5 separate regions of the Homo sapiens genome follow, and all the other regions are linked to region 2. Evidence: promoter capture Hi-C in 16 types of primary human blood cells and fetal thymus (Javierre and others, 2016). All regions are on one chromosome and are shown on one strand. Each heading gives the region's core, a stretch centred on a gene start or on the middle of the fragment in contact. The rest is flanking DNA. Distances are from core to core; before and after follow the strand shown.

What was found. Contacts are between HindIII fragments. The CHiCAGO score rates a contact against its expected background, and 5 or more counts as called.
Region 1: a fragment that was not itself captured here is called in contact with the fragment with the promoter of SMCP in region 2 in 2 of 17 cell types (M0 macrophages and M2 macrophages); the score reaches 6.2 in M0 macrophages.
Region 3: a fragment that was not itself captured here is called in contact with the fragment with the promoter of SMCP in region 2 in 3 of 17 cell types (endothelial precursors, M2 macrophages and erythroblasts); the score reaches 7.2 in endothelial precursors.
Region 4: a fragment that was not itself captured here is called in contact with the fragment with the promoter of SMCP in region 2 in 1 of 17 cell types (M2 macrophages); the score reaches 5.3 in M2 macrophages.
Region 5: the fragment with the promoter of SPRR2G here is called in contact with the fragment with the promoter of SMCP in region 2 in 6 of 17 cell types (M2 macrophages, M1 macrophages, endothelial precursors and 3 more); the score reaches 8.1 in M2 macrophages.

What each region holds. Positions count from the first base shown.
Region 1 is chr1:153,298,687-153,301,386 of GRCh38, forward strand. It overlaps PGLYRP3 (peptidoglycan recognition protein 3), which reads right to left. Exons shown (of 8, transcript NM_052891.3): 7 at 427-545. Among named protein-coding and RNA genes, the nearest start is that of PGLYRP3, 13 kb to the right of the region's middle. The HindIII fragment of the contact is 1,569 bases long and covers 544-2,112 here.
Region 2 is chr1:152,876,921-152,879,620 of GRCh38, forward strand. It overlaps SMCP (sperm mitochondria associated cysteine rich protein), which reads left to right and starts at 1,402. Exons shown (of 2, transcript NM_030663.3): 1 at 1,402-1,526. The HindIII fragment of the contact is 18,030 bases long and covers 1-2,700 here.
Region 3 is chr1:153,178,559-153,181,258 of GRCh38, forward strand. The region is part of intron 2 of LOC101928009 (a long non-coding RNA gene); the gene reads left to right. It also overlaps a transcript of SPRR2G not described here. Among named protein-coding and RNA genes, the nearest start is that of LELP1, 24 kb to the right of the region's middle. The HindIII fragment of the contact is 461 bases long and covers 1,139-1,599 here.
Region 4 is chr1:153,247,192-153,249,891 of GRCh38, forward strand. No RefSeq gene overlaps it. Among named protein-coding and RNA genes, the nearest start is that of LORICRIN, 11 kb to the right of the region's middle. The HindIII fragment of the contact is 3,114 bases long and covers 1-2,700 here.
Region 5 is chr1:153,149,620-153,152,319 of GRCh38, forward strand. It overlaps SPRR2G (small proline rich protein 2G), which reads right to left and starts at 1,271. Exons shown (of 2, transcript NM_001014291.4): 1 at 1,233-1,271; 2 at 1-512. The coding sequence starts at 491. The coding sequence ends at 270. The HindIII fragment of the contact is 711 bases long and covers 1,211-1,921 here.

The DNA of each region.
Region 1 (2,700 bases), core at 78-2,577, 420 kb after region 2:
GCAGCACAACACACCACTTCTGAGCAGGTATAAAGCAGATACAGCACCACTGGGCCGCCCACTGGTTTTCCATAACAGGCAGTGGTGCTCCCCAAATTGTTGCCATGGCTAACAAGAAAGGGGACACATTTGCCAACTGAGCGATAAAAGCACTGAAGTTTGCAAAAGACGTTTCCCCCCTTGCTCCATGTTTGCCTTGGATATAAAGCAAGGTGGAGCTGGGCATGGGGATGGGTGGATTTGGGGGTAAATGCTCTGTCTGAAAGGGGATCCTGGTGACATCCTGTATTAAGAGTCCACTTTAAAGCTAAAATGTTCCATTCACACTGCCAGGCACTACAGGGCTGCCTTTCCCGCCATGCTTCCCAGACATGCTGCATGGTCCTTCAACCCCCAGCACCCCTCTACCCCATGCTCACCCCTTACCTACAAAGTAGCCGATGAAGGCAATTCCTAGGGCAATATCGTTGAATCCATAAGTGTGAGAGCCTTGGATGTGCCATCCAACCCCTTCATACACGCCACCATCCTGGCCCACCAGGAAGCTTAGGTCAGGAAAAGAAAATGAAGACAGTCACTCTGGGAAACAGAATTTAAATACTTCATTCACTCCTTCAACCACTCATTCATTCTTTCATCCATTCATCCAATATTGACTGGAGATCTCTTATGTGCCAATGTGGACAAGGACAGAAAACAAAACAAAACAAAAAAATACCACAGTCCACTTCAACCTGGCCTTTGTTCCCATCACACCACTAAATCTGACCCCTCCAAGGTGAGCAGTGGCTTCCTGGCACTAAGTACAATGGACACTTACTTTACTTCTAGACTACACTGACCCTGTTGACCACTCTCTTAAAATGTTCCCTTCCCCGGGCTTCCACAACCACAACCCTCCTTGTTCTCCTCCTCCTGCTGCTCCCTCAGGCCCCTCTCCCACCCCACCTTACCTTCCTCAAACATGGTGCTCCTCCGCACTCTAGTCTAGGCCATTCTCTCACTCAACGTATTCACCCTGGACAATCATTGCCACAGCTTCAAGTACTACCTGTAAAAACAGTCCAAGCAAACCCACCTTCTTCTAAAATTTATCCAGCTAGAAAATTGGACAACACCCTGAATGCCTTCTACCCCCTCACTCAGCCCACCTGGTCACCAATCATGGCTTGTCAATTGTATCTCCTACACAGCTTCTAAATTCCTCCACTTCTTTCTAGACCAACTGCCACGATCCCACTGCAAGTCACTGGATCACTGCAATAGCTTCCTGCCCAGAGTTTTGCCTCCTTCCAACCCATTCTTAAAGTAGCACCCAGAGTGATTTTTCTAAAATACAAATCCTATCATAGAGCATGACCTCCCAAATAGTCTGCAGCTGCCTTTCAAATTGAGTCAGTCTCTCTGAGTCTGCTATGAGGCCCTCCGTGATGTGGCCCCTCCCAGGCTTTCCCACCCTTACTACTCACCACTCCTCTCTTTCAAATCTATTTGTAATGCTCTGTCTGAACCCCGGGCCCTGGCAAATACTGTTCCTCCTCACCCAGACACTCTTCCTCCTTCTTTGCCTGAATAAACCCCACTGCTTATCCATGTCCCAATGAGGATACTCCTCCCTCTAGAAGCCATTCTCAGACCCCAATCACCCCCCACAAAGCCTTGATTAGAGACTCATCATATACATTATCCTGTTCTGCATCCATCACAGTGCTCAAACACTTTGACTTGTAGTTACTTGTTAGCCCTCCTTCTCTCATATCTATCAGTGAAAGTTGTCAGAATCAAAATGGAGTCACTTGTGTCAAACTCTAACAAAAATAAATAAAGCCAGGAGGTTGAAAAGGGTGGACCCTCATGCACACAAGCCTACAATAAGAACTAGCACAAAGACTCTCTGAAGGACTCTTACGCACACAAGCCTGTAACAAGAACTTTTGCCAAAAACTTTCAAAACTGCAGCTTGTTACTAGTCACAAGGACATCTGGCTGATGAAGAACACTTGCCCAGCACACTGTCTCCACTAATGAACTGGTGTCACCTCCCGCGATAAGTTCCAATGTTCTCCAGTGTTCCCTTTATTTCAAAACAAACTTTTGCCTTTTGCCTTTAAAAGCTTCCCCTAGCCTGAACCTCTTTGGATATGCCTGTGGTTCCTGTAGCATGCATATCCCAGATTTGCAAATTCCCTTTACACTCTCAAATAAAATACTTATCTTTATTCTCTTGCTTTTGTTTTTGTCTTTTTCAGACAGGGTCTCACTCTGTTGCTCAGGCTGAAGGGCAGTGGCACAACCATGACTCACTGCAGCCTCAAACTACTAGGCTCAAGCGATCCTCCGTTTCAGCCTTCCAAGTAGTTGGGACTGACTACAGGTATACATGTCACCACACCCAGCTAATTATTTTATTTTTTTGAAGAGATGGGGTCTCCCTATGTTGCCCAGGCTGATCTCAAACTCCTGACCTCAAGCAATCCTTCCGCCTCGGCCTCCTAAAATGCTGAGATTATAGGCATGAGCCACCGTGCCTGGCCAAATTAATCATCTTTGGAGAATCTCTCTCTGTTTGTTGTTAGATTGATATATCTCGTCTAGCACCAGGCATATAGTAGCTATCCAATAACTATTGATTAAAAAACTAGAAAATAATGTGTGAGTGGGTGCTTTGTCCTGATTACAGTCCATATCAGGGTTACAGGT
Region 2 (2,700 bases), core at 152-2,651:
TAGAATGAAAAGCACAATTCACATACTTCCCAAGAGTGCTACCCTTTGGCCGAGGTGGTTCTGTCCTGGACTTCAGACTTTAAAGAGTCCTTCTCTGGCTCTCCTCCAGCCATGACCCACCCCCATAGGATGATTCAATAGGTCCAGGGTACAGGCCCAGAGCTGCTGTCTCTCTCACTCCAGCTATCCAGGACCCCAGAAATCTCTGTCAACTGGCCCTGAGATCACCTTTATGTGTCTATCCTCTTGAAGACTCAAACAGCCAATACTGTGCTCACTTCTAGGTCTCAATGACCAAGAGAGGGGCAGTTTGAGAGATCCATGTATGAAAAGAACATGGACGGTATGGACTAGGATATTTACACTCATGCACGCCCGAGGTCCCTCGTGACACAAGATGAAGCCAGGGAGTAGGAAGAGAACCAGGGGTGAACCACAGGGGTCAGAAGCCTCTGTTTGTGCTCTTGCCTGGTGTCCTACAAATGTTTATGGCAGGCATGCTTCCCAGAAGAACAGAATTTCCTAGTCACTGTCCTCAAAGAGGCCATGCTACAGGAAGAAAAGGAAAGAGTAAACATAATGAAATGCTTCTCTCTTATCATTATTTTAGTCAATTCACTATTCAATTGATTCAGTTTCAGAATCTTTTATGTGCCAATTGCTCAGCCAGACACTGGGAATATCAAAGTGAATAAAATAGGGTCCTGGCCCCTAAGGCATCCCAGTTTCTCCCCTGTTTAAAACCTTTCAGTGGTTCCCATTGTCCTCAGGATAAAGTCCAAACTCTTTTTCTTATGGCATAAAGGTCCTCACCAACACAGCCTTACCTACCTAGGTAGGTGAATCTCCCCCTTCTCCTTACTCCCCACTCTGCTCCAGCCACACTGAGCTTTTCCACCAAATAGCCTATACTTTCACATTTCTGGATCTGAAAATGTCCTCCCAGACACACCCCTATGTCCAACTTCCTATTTCCAATTTCCAAGTCTCAGCTTAAATATCACTCCCTCCAGGAAGCATATCTGACCCCCAAACCTGACCCCTGTGCTTATCCTACCATCATTATTATCACATGGTATTGTTGGCTATTGACTTGCCTCCATATTGAATTAGATCTTTGAGAATGGGAACTACATCCCATTGAGCTACACTTCACTTTTTAGGACAGAGCCTGGTAGATAGGAGACAATCAATACAGATTTGTGTTTTAGGTTATTGCATGCTTATGGGTTAGCTAGGGAGCTTTCTTTTTATCTTTCAGGAAAGAAACCAAAGAGACAGACTCTCCAGCAGGCAGGGGGCGCCAGTGAGTGAGCTAGGCATAGAGTCTTGTGGAGAGAATTATGGTGTCATAGAGGCTTAGAATCTTGGCATTAGCAGGGAAGGGAACCCATCTGGTTCAGAAGGCTTTGGCTTCTGATAGTCATGGACTCACTAGGCTGCTGAGGAAGATCAATAATACCTACTGGAATCAGTCATGAGAAGTCAAGCATGGAAATTGTGAATTGTGTGTGTGGCCAGACCAGGTAACACAGAGAAACATTGTCTTTTGGGTCCTCTCTCCATGGCTTTTTCATGTGTTCATTAGTTCATTACGTATTTACCTACTGAGACCCATGCAATGCCATTCAGTGTGTTGGATGAGAGGATTCCAGGATTCATCCTATCTTTCAGGAAAAAGCTCCTGCTTCTATTTAAGAGGAAGACATGGGAGCCACTGGGGGTGGGGATAGTGAGAATGCCTGTGTTTATGGAACTAACAGACCACAAAAGTGAGACAATTGGGAAAATAATAACCACTATAAAAATGTAATGGGAAGTACAGGGGATCCAAGAAAGCCTTTCAGGGAGATGGAGGTTTTGGGTTAAGGAAGTTTTCCTCGAGGAGTGATGTGTAAGCAGAGACTTCAGGTTTGAACGATATTCAGTGAGCATGTGGGGACAGAGACCCAGGAAGGGTGGTTTAAGCTGGGAAAGAGCACATTCAAAGACCTGGAAAGAGGTGAGAAAATTCAGCAGGTGTCTGCTCTGAGCCAGTCTGGTGCCTGAGGGAACAGTGTTTGGACATGAGGCTGGGCCTGTGGGCAGAGGGAGAAGGTGCCTTGCCAGAGCCCTCCTGGTGGTTTGGGCTCTGTATCAATCCTCTCTGAATAGAGCAATAAGAGCTAGGAAGATGGCCCTGGCCTTGCACCACAAGTGTTTGACATGATTAGGCAGATTTCCTGAGGCAGGCTGTGCACAGCATGGTTGGGAAGGAAGGGAAATGGAGCTTGGAGAGAATATTTATTTATTTGTTTGTTTCTTTTTATTTATTTATTGAGATGGAGTCTCACTCTGTCACCCAGGCTGGAGTGCAGTGGTGAGGTCTCGGCTCACTGTAACTTCTACCTCCCGGATTCAAGTGATTCTCCTGCCTCAGCTTCCCAAGTAGCTGGTATTACAGGTGCACGCCACCACACCCAGCTAATTTTTGTATTTTCAGTAGAGATGGAGTTTTGCCATGTTGGCCAGGCTGGTCTCAAACTCCTGACCTCAAGTGATTCACCCGTCCCAGCCTCCCAAAGCGCTGGGACAACAGGTGTGAGCCATTGTGCCCGGCCAAGGAGAGAATCTTAAGAAGAAACTCTTGCAGGAGGCAGAGGGGTCCAGGAGGCAGGTTTGTTGGACAGGAGCCAGGGTTCTGAAAGTGGAGGATATAGA
Region 3 (2,700 bases), core at 119-2,618, 300 kb after region 2:
ATTCAGATGATATAATTTCTTCCTTTATTCAGTTAATTTGGTGAATTACATTTATAATATTAAATAAACCTTGCATTCTGTGACAAATCCTCTTAATATATTGCTAGACTCAATTTACTGATATTTTCTTAAGGATTTTTGCTTCTATGCTCCTGAGGAATAACGATCTGTAACTTTCTTTTCATTTAATGTCCTTGTCAAGTTTCAATATCAGGGCTACGTTAACCTGAAAAAGACTTGGTGAATATTCCCTCTTTCTCTGTTTTATGAAAGAAATTATGTATGATTGAAATTTTTATTTCTTAAGTGTGTGGTATAATTCACCAGTTAATCCTTTTGGACCTGGGGCATTCTATATGGGAAGGTTTTAAACTATGGGTTTTATTTCTGTAATAATTTTAGAGATTGTCTCAGTCAGGGTACAATGAGAGGAACAGAACCAGTTGGAAATGTACTTCAGAGATTTACTACAAGGACTCAATTTATGTGATTGCAAAGGCAGCTAGGCAAGTCTAAAATCCAGAAGTCAGGACATCAAGAGGGTAAGCTGGAACTCTGTCATAGGCTGAAGCTGTAATCCACACATATAATTTCTTCAGGGAAGATTTAGCTTGGCTTTTAAAGCCTTTCAACTGATTGAATCAGACCAGCCTGTATAAACTAGGATTTTCTCCCTTACTTAGAGTCAATTCATAATGGACTTTAATCACATCTACCTTCACAGCAACACCTAGATTAGTATTTGATTGAGTAACTAGGGACTGTCATGCAGCCAAGCTGACACGTCAAAAGACCATCACAGGGCTGTCAAGTTTTCATTTATGTGTTAGTTTTTTATTTTCAAGGAATTTGTGCTTTTCATCTAAGTTGTAGAATTCAATATGAAGTTGTTTATAATATCCACTCATTTTAAATATAACAATGTCACGCCTATCATTTGTGAAATGGTTTCATTTTTAAATATACAATATCATCGTGTGTGTGAAGGTACTCATGCCACAAACTAAATAAGGATAATAATGTTTGAAATAATGATAGTAGTCATAATAATAATTTTTAAGACCTAGGATTCATCTCTTATTCCTCTTTTCCTCACCTCCCACATACTACTTCTTCCTAGATCCCAAGTTCTGCCTTAAGCTTATTATCACTTCTCATCTTCTCATTATCTTCAATGTTCTTACCCTAATTAGAGCCACCATCACCCTCACCTGAACCACTGCAGAAGTTTCCTATCTTGTGTCCTGATTTCTATCTTGTCTCCGTATTCCTATCTTGTGCCACAGCAATCCCATATCAGAACAACCACAGCAATCATATAAAATATAGAGAAGATTATGTCCTCCCTAATTGAAATGATCAAATATCTTGCCATTGTATCTAGAGAAAAGTCTGAAGACCTTACTGTCCTACAAAGCACTTCATGCTGTGGCACTGACTCTTATGCTGACTTCATCATATCTTTCTTTCCTTGTTCACTAAGTTGCAGGAATATTGGCATTCTGGTGGCTTCCTTCCCTTTAAAGTAACCTTTTAACTGACTAAAATTGAAGTATAAATTAATAAAAGCTCACCAAGTACAGGTATACAACTTAATAAAGCTTCATAAGCTAAACAACCATGCAACCAATGCACAAATGAAGAAATAACATGTTACCAGCATCTCAGAAGCAGTCCACCTGGGAAGCAGGTTCTCAAAAGCAGTCCGAGTCACTACCAGCCCCCAAACATTAACTTTTTCCTGGCATCTAACACTGTACATTTGTTCTTCATGTTCTGAACTGTATATAAAGGGAATCATACAGTATGAACTCTTTGGTGCCTGGATTTTTTTTCCCCAAAATTGTGTTTGTGATACTGATTCATTTTCTGGTTTGTAGATATAGATCGTTGATTCTCATTGCTGTATGGTATTTCTCTATGAGAATATACTACCATTTATGCATCCATTTTATTGCTAAAAGGTATTTTAGTAGTTTCCAATTTGGAATTTTTAAAAATAGTGCTAATGTGAATATTTACGTATTTGTCCTTTTGTGACTATATGTACACACTTCTGTTAGGTACATACCTAGGAAAATATAATGACTGGGTCAGAGGATAGGGATATGCTCAGCTCTAGTGAATACTGTTAACTTTTCCAAATTCTTTCTACCATCTATTATTCCCATCAGCAGTGTGTGAAAGTTTCAATTGCTCCACACTCTGTCTAAACTTGGTATTGTCTATCTTTTTTCGTGTTAGCCATTTCGGTGGCTATGTGGAGATAACACGTTGTGACTTGAATTTGCATTTCTCTTATGAATGGTGAGATTAAACTCTTTATTATATGTTTATTGGAAATACAGAAATGCCCTTTCATGAATTGCCTGTTCAGGTTGTTCAGATATTTTTCTATTTGCTCATTTCTTGTTTTTTTGTTGATCTGTGAGTAGGAACACATGTGTATATATGTTCTGGGAACAAGCCCTTTGTTAAATATAGATATTACATACAGCTTCTCCATCTCTGTGGCTTGGCATTTTGCAATCTTGGTGGTGTTTTTGATAATCAGAAATTTTTAATTTTAATGAAATCCAATTTGTCATTTTTCCACCTTATTGGTATGCTTTTTATTACCTGATTAAGGAATCTTTCCTATTGACAAGATCTGAAGACATTCTCCCAGAGTTTAGAATTTTGTTTGTTTGTTTTTGGTTG
Region 4 (2,700 bases), core at 3-2,502, 370 kb after region 2:
CATGGAGATCAGCTAGCCCAGTCCACTCACTGTATAGCTGAGGAAACTGAGCTGCCCAACATTGCACGAAACCTAGTCCTTGTCCCATTGAGCTAGAATGTGTGTTCCACAAAGGCAGGGAATTTTTTGTCTGTTTTGTCTCTGTCTAGAGCAATGTGTGACAACTAGACAGCTCTCAGAAAATATTTGCTGATGCTGATGTTGACACAGAATTGTATCACACCGGACAGCAGGATTGTGGAAAACATGGGCTTTGGAGTCAGACAAATCCAACTGTAGTCCTGGCTCAGTTGCTTTTGACCGTGTGACCTTGGCAGGTTATTTGTGCTCCTCACACCTCACTTTTGTTATCTATGATATGTGGATAACAGTGCTACAGAATGTGGTGAGGTTCCAACATGGAGAAACACCCAACATAGCACCTGGAACATAGGATGTGCTCAATAAATGGTAGTTATCACTGCTAGTAATAGTATTAAGTACCGAGTGACTGACTCAGAGAAGAACTTGGGAGAGAACTGAACAAAAGGGGCAAAGCTAGCCAGACCCCCCAATCCAATATCAACCATGAAGGCAAACCCACGAGAGAAAATCTGCCCCTGAAATAGTTCCTCTATGCACTCCCCACCCCTTCTCCCTCATTGACACCTGACACTTTATCACTGAGCTTCATCCTTTCCATTATAATTCTGACTCTTTTAACCTATCACTCCCTGAATAGAGAAGACCCACTTTAAATCAGATGCCCACACTCTAATTTAAATGAATTGTACAATCTTTCCTTGAGTTCAACTAGCAGTGTTTAATCAAATACTGACTGTTTTCCAATGGCTTTCCCATATAATAGATCTTGTTTAATCTGCACAGCATCCTCAAAACATAGGCAAATCAAAGATATTTTACACATGAAGATATAGGATCAGAAAGGCTAAGCGGCACACTTGCAGTGTCACAGCTGGCAAATGATATAACCAAGATTCCGCCTCAGATCCTCTGACATCAATTCAGTCACCAAAGTCTCACCAAGACCCAGGAACAATTTCAATAATGAGCTAGTAGCAGAATGACAGAGGCTCAGGCATCCCCTGCTGAAGGAAGTCACAACAGCCTCCCCCTTCTATCATGAAAGCTAAATAAATCAGCTTGAATTTCAGTTTCTCAGGGTCTTTAATTTTCTGGGTTCCTCTGAGATCTCAGCCTGGGAGAGCTGAGATGTCTCAGCTGCTTGCATCTCAAGCAGCCAGTGCAATGCCTAGCCCAGCCCACAGCAAATGCTGGTAGAATGAATGGATGAACAAATAAACTCTTCCACATCTGCCTACTTCTGGAATTGTTACTGACCTAGATATTAGACGCTTTGGCCTGGGTGGGGAGGATATTAACCCCTAGGATGAGGGGCTCCAAGGACACACTGCCTGCTTCACAGGGTGCCTCTGGCTGCGTCCAAAGACAATGCTCTGGGCCAGCTCCTGAGTCTAGAGTGGCCCACAGTTCCAACGCTGTGTTTCAGCAGGGAGACAGACCCACTCTCACACTTGCGAACCCTCCCCCTACCCTTAGGTGAATGTGGGGGCAGAACTCCTGCACCACAAGTGTTCATTTTCCAGGAGGACATGTGGAACTCTCCAAAGGGAAGAAGCAGGACCCGTGCTTTTAACCTAGTGTTTCCTAAACCTCAGTAATTCACATACCTCCTTGGTAGTTTTTCCCATATTCATGAACCACTTGTATGATTATTTATTCAACACTTTTCTCTGGATGAACTCACAATTTTTACTTAACCAGATTTATTTTTGAAGATATACTACCACGGTGTTACCTTCTTTTACCTCATCCTAAGCAATGATACCCATAAAATAAATCTGAAGTGCTTACTGTGTACACATTAAAAGAAATATATTTTCTATTTTAATGTATAGCTATCAGAATAAGGAGGCTTTTTAACTCACTAGCAGAAAGCACACTTCGCTTTACGTAACTCTTCTGCAATCCATATAGGATCCAGCAGGGATTATGTGGAGTAAAATGTCCTAATTAATCACTGAGAGCAATTATACACCATGAATAATTTAATCATGCATCAACATCACAGTCATGTTGATAATGCAATAATACCAATAATCCAAAAACCTGTGCTGACATCCACTTTAAAACTTCTAGTATGCTATAATCTCTATTATCTCTCCCTTTTGGAGCCAAACAGGCCTTATAATTTCTTGGAGTTGCCAGAATTTGATCACAGAGCCCAGAGTGGGGTAGGGAGAGATATTATTCTGACTAGACTCAAACCAGCACTGTTACAAATCTTGAAACAACTCCTCTGTCCTCCCTACCTCCCTTTTCTGTCTCCCTCTTTCTATTCTCTGCATCATTCTTTCTTTCCTTCTTTTTCTTTAAACAAACACTGACTCACTGCCTGGTGTATCCACGGACTCCAGGTTTACTAAGAGCTGCAATGCCATCCCTGCCTTCCAGGAGCAAACAATCTTGTTGGGGAGGTGAAAATAGGGCAAAGACTTAATATTGTCCCCACCCAGGCCAAAACATCTAATACCCAGGTCAGTAACAATTCTAGATGTGGGAAGATGTGAAAGAGTGCATTCATTCATCCATTCATTCTACCAGCATTCATTGTGGGCTGGGCTAGGCATTGCACTAGCTGCTTGAAATGCAAGACAATGAACAAAACCTAGTAACTCC
Region 5 (2,700 bases), core at 21-2,520, 270 kb after region 2:
GCAAAAGAATAAACACACTTGCTCTCAGGATAGGAACCACCATCTACATCACAGACAGCAAAGCGAGATTAGGCAGTGATCTGGCTGCTCATCTTCCAACAACATATCGGTTTTCAGAACTAAGCCTTTTCTCTGTCAACGCTCAAGCCAGACAGAGGTTAGGGAAGATGCAGCCTCCCACTACAGCTGAAGGGAAGATGATGGAGTCCTGGGAGTAAGAAGAGCCACTGGATCTTGTTGTTTCATGGTCCTGATGAATTCTAGTGATGTTACTTGCTCTTGGGTGGATACTTCTGCTGGCAGGGTGGGTATGGTTGCACAGGAGGGCATTTATCCTGGCATGGTGGAGGTGGGCAATGCTCAGGTGGACAAGGAGGAGGCAGGTAAGGCTCAGGGCACTTCGGGGGTGGACATGGCTCTGGGCACTTTGGCGTGGGGCACACAGGAGGTGGCTGGCAGGGCTGCTTGCACTGCTGCTGCTGGTAAGACATCTCTCCTCAGTCTCAGAGAATCTGAAAGATACATACGAAACAGTGCTCATAAGAGAGACAGTCCTGTTGGTGGAGCAATTAGCTAGGACATCAAATCTCCAGTATCTAGGGACCAACTTTGATCCCTAATACAGTCTTTATGACTTTGTGAACCTTCTTCACACTTCACTTTTAGGACCTCTTACCCTCAGTTCTTCCGTCTTTCTGGCTGTTCTCTCATTCTACCATTTTCTGAAAATAAAATTGCCTATGAGACAGCAACAAATGTTGTCTGAATACAAACACTATCTGAAGAAGAAAAACTCAGATATTAAAAGTCTAGCCAATACCAAACAAATCTGTGCTCTTATCTTCCATGAGGCCCTAGTTACCAGTTTTAATGAGCTGGCTGTGGTGCTGAGCCATGAGTTTTTTAAGAGAATTGCAAAAACTTGCACCCATCACCCAAGGAGATTGCACTCCAAGAGAGATGTATTTGGAACAGATGTGAAGCAGGAGACAGAACAGCATCTTGTGTCTCTCACTCTCCTTCAGTTTAAGATTTTATATATTTGACTCCAGGTTCCTCATCACCTTCATGTTTATCTACCAAATACCAGCTAAAATTTACCTTCAAGACCTCATTATCTTCTTTTTCCTATCCATGAGGATAAATTGGTTAAAATAAACAGGCATTTCTGTACCCAGGTTAGACCCTAACACCATCCAAGTGCAAGAAAAGCTTCTAATATTTGTACTCACCAGAGTCTTCAAAGATCTACAACTGAATGGCAAGAAGATAGCATCAGTGTGGTGGAGAGTCCTTTTATAAGGGGCAGGCAGCCCTACACAGGGAACAGCCCAGGACTAGCATGATGTGCTTATTTCCCAACCAAAATACCACTTGCATGTAATCCATGCTGGTATCACAAAATTCCTAGTCCATGATCCTCCCCAGCAGGATAAGTGCACAGTGATTCACTTGGGACATTATCTCAGGTTCCTCATGCCAGTGGCAATTGTAGAACGTGACAAATTGTCTGACAATTGTGGTGCTTCCCTATAATTAGAGATGGTGCTTCTCCTACTTCCCAGCTTCCAAAGTATCCTGTATGTAAAACTACTCCCATTCAGTTGCACATGCCCAGTATCTAGCTGTGTTCTCTTTAGTAGAGACCAGTATGTGCTGATCCTGCAGCCTGGCTATATCCTAACCCTCAACTGCAGTTTTTCTTTACAACTAACTTCCCCTTTTATCATGGCCTATTGATCCTTAGGCTTTTCTTGACAATTAATTGACTTGAACAGGGTGACAAAATCATATATCAGCTTCCTAGATGCTGACAGCCCCAACCTGGGTGTGTTCTGACATGGTATTAATGGGCTTGAACAAGGCAACATCATCTCTCAGTTTTCTAGGCCATTAGAGTCATGTTGGGGCCCCTTCTTAAAGCTTCACATTTGCAGATTTACACACTAACCTCATCTCTGTGGCCCTTGTAACTATGAGTGACTTGTGGTCTACTAGAAATCCAAACTCATCTTCTCCCATTTTCTTCCAAACTGCCTTAATGTATGTGCTGCATCCATTTTGAAGCTTTTCTCCTACATGCTAATTCAATTTACTCCTTCACAATTTCTCTCTTTTGAAATGACATTTAGTAGGATTTCAGGCTTTCTTTGCACATTCGAGGAGTGAAGTTCTGTAAAGCTATTTATCCTGCTGTTTACTTCATGGATGTTTTTACCTAAATAAGTAAAGTATAGCTGGCACAGATCCCACGGATAATTTCTTAGTATAGCTTATTTAACCATATTAACACTTCAGCTAGTATTACTCACTGTCCCAACTTGGAAAAAACTTGAGTACCTTGGTTATGCATACATCTACAGCCACCACTACTGTGTGGAACTAAATATTTCCTAACCTCCTTGAAACACAGTTTACACAGCTGTAAAACAGAAATAAAAAATACACCTACCACAAAAGTCTCCTACAAAAACTCAAAGAGTGGCCTAAAATTATGCACATTACATAGTGGGTCTTCTAAGAAATATAAACTCTAAAATGTAGAAGAAATAAGAATAATAACTAATCATAACTAACCAATAATTTCAAACATGTCAAAAACAGATAATAAAGAATGGCATTGTTTAGAGTGAGGCCTATCTAGTGAAGATCCTTTCCCTGCATCCCCCATTCTTCTAGCTGTAGTCACTACTAATTAGA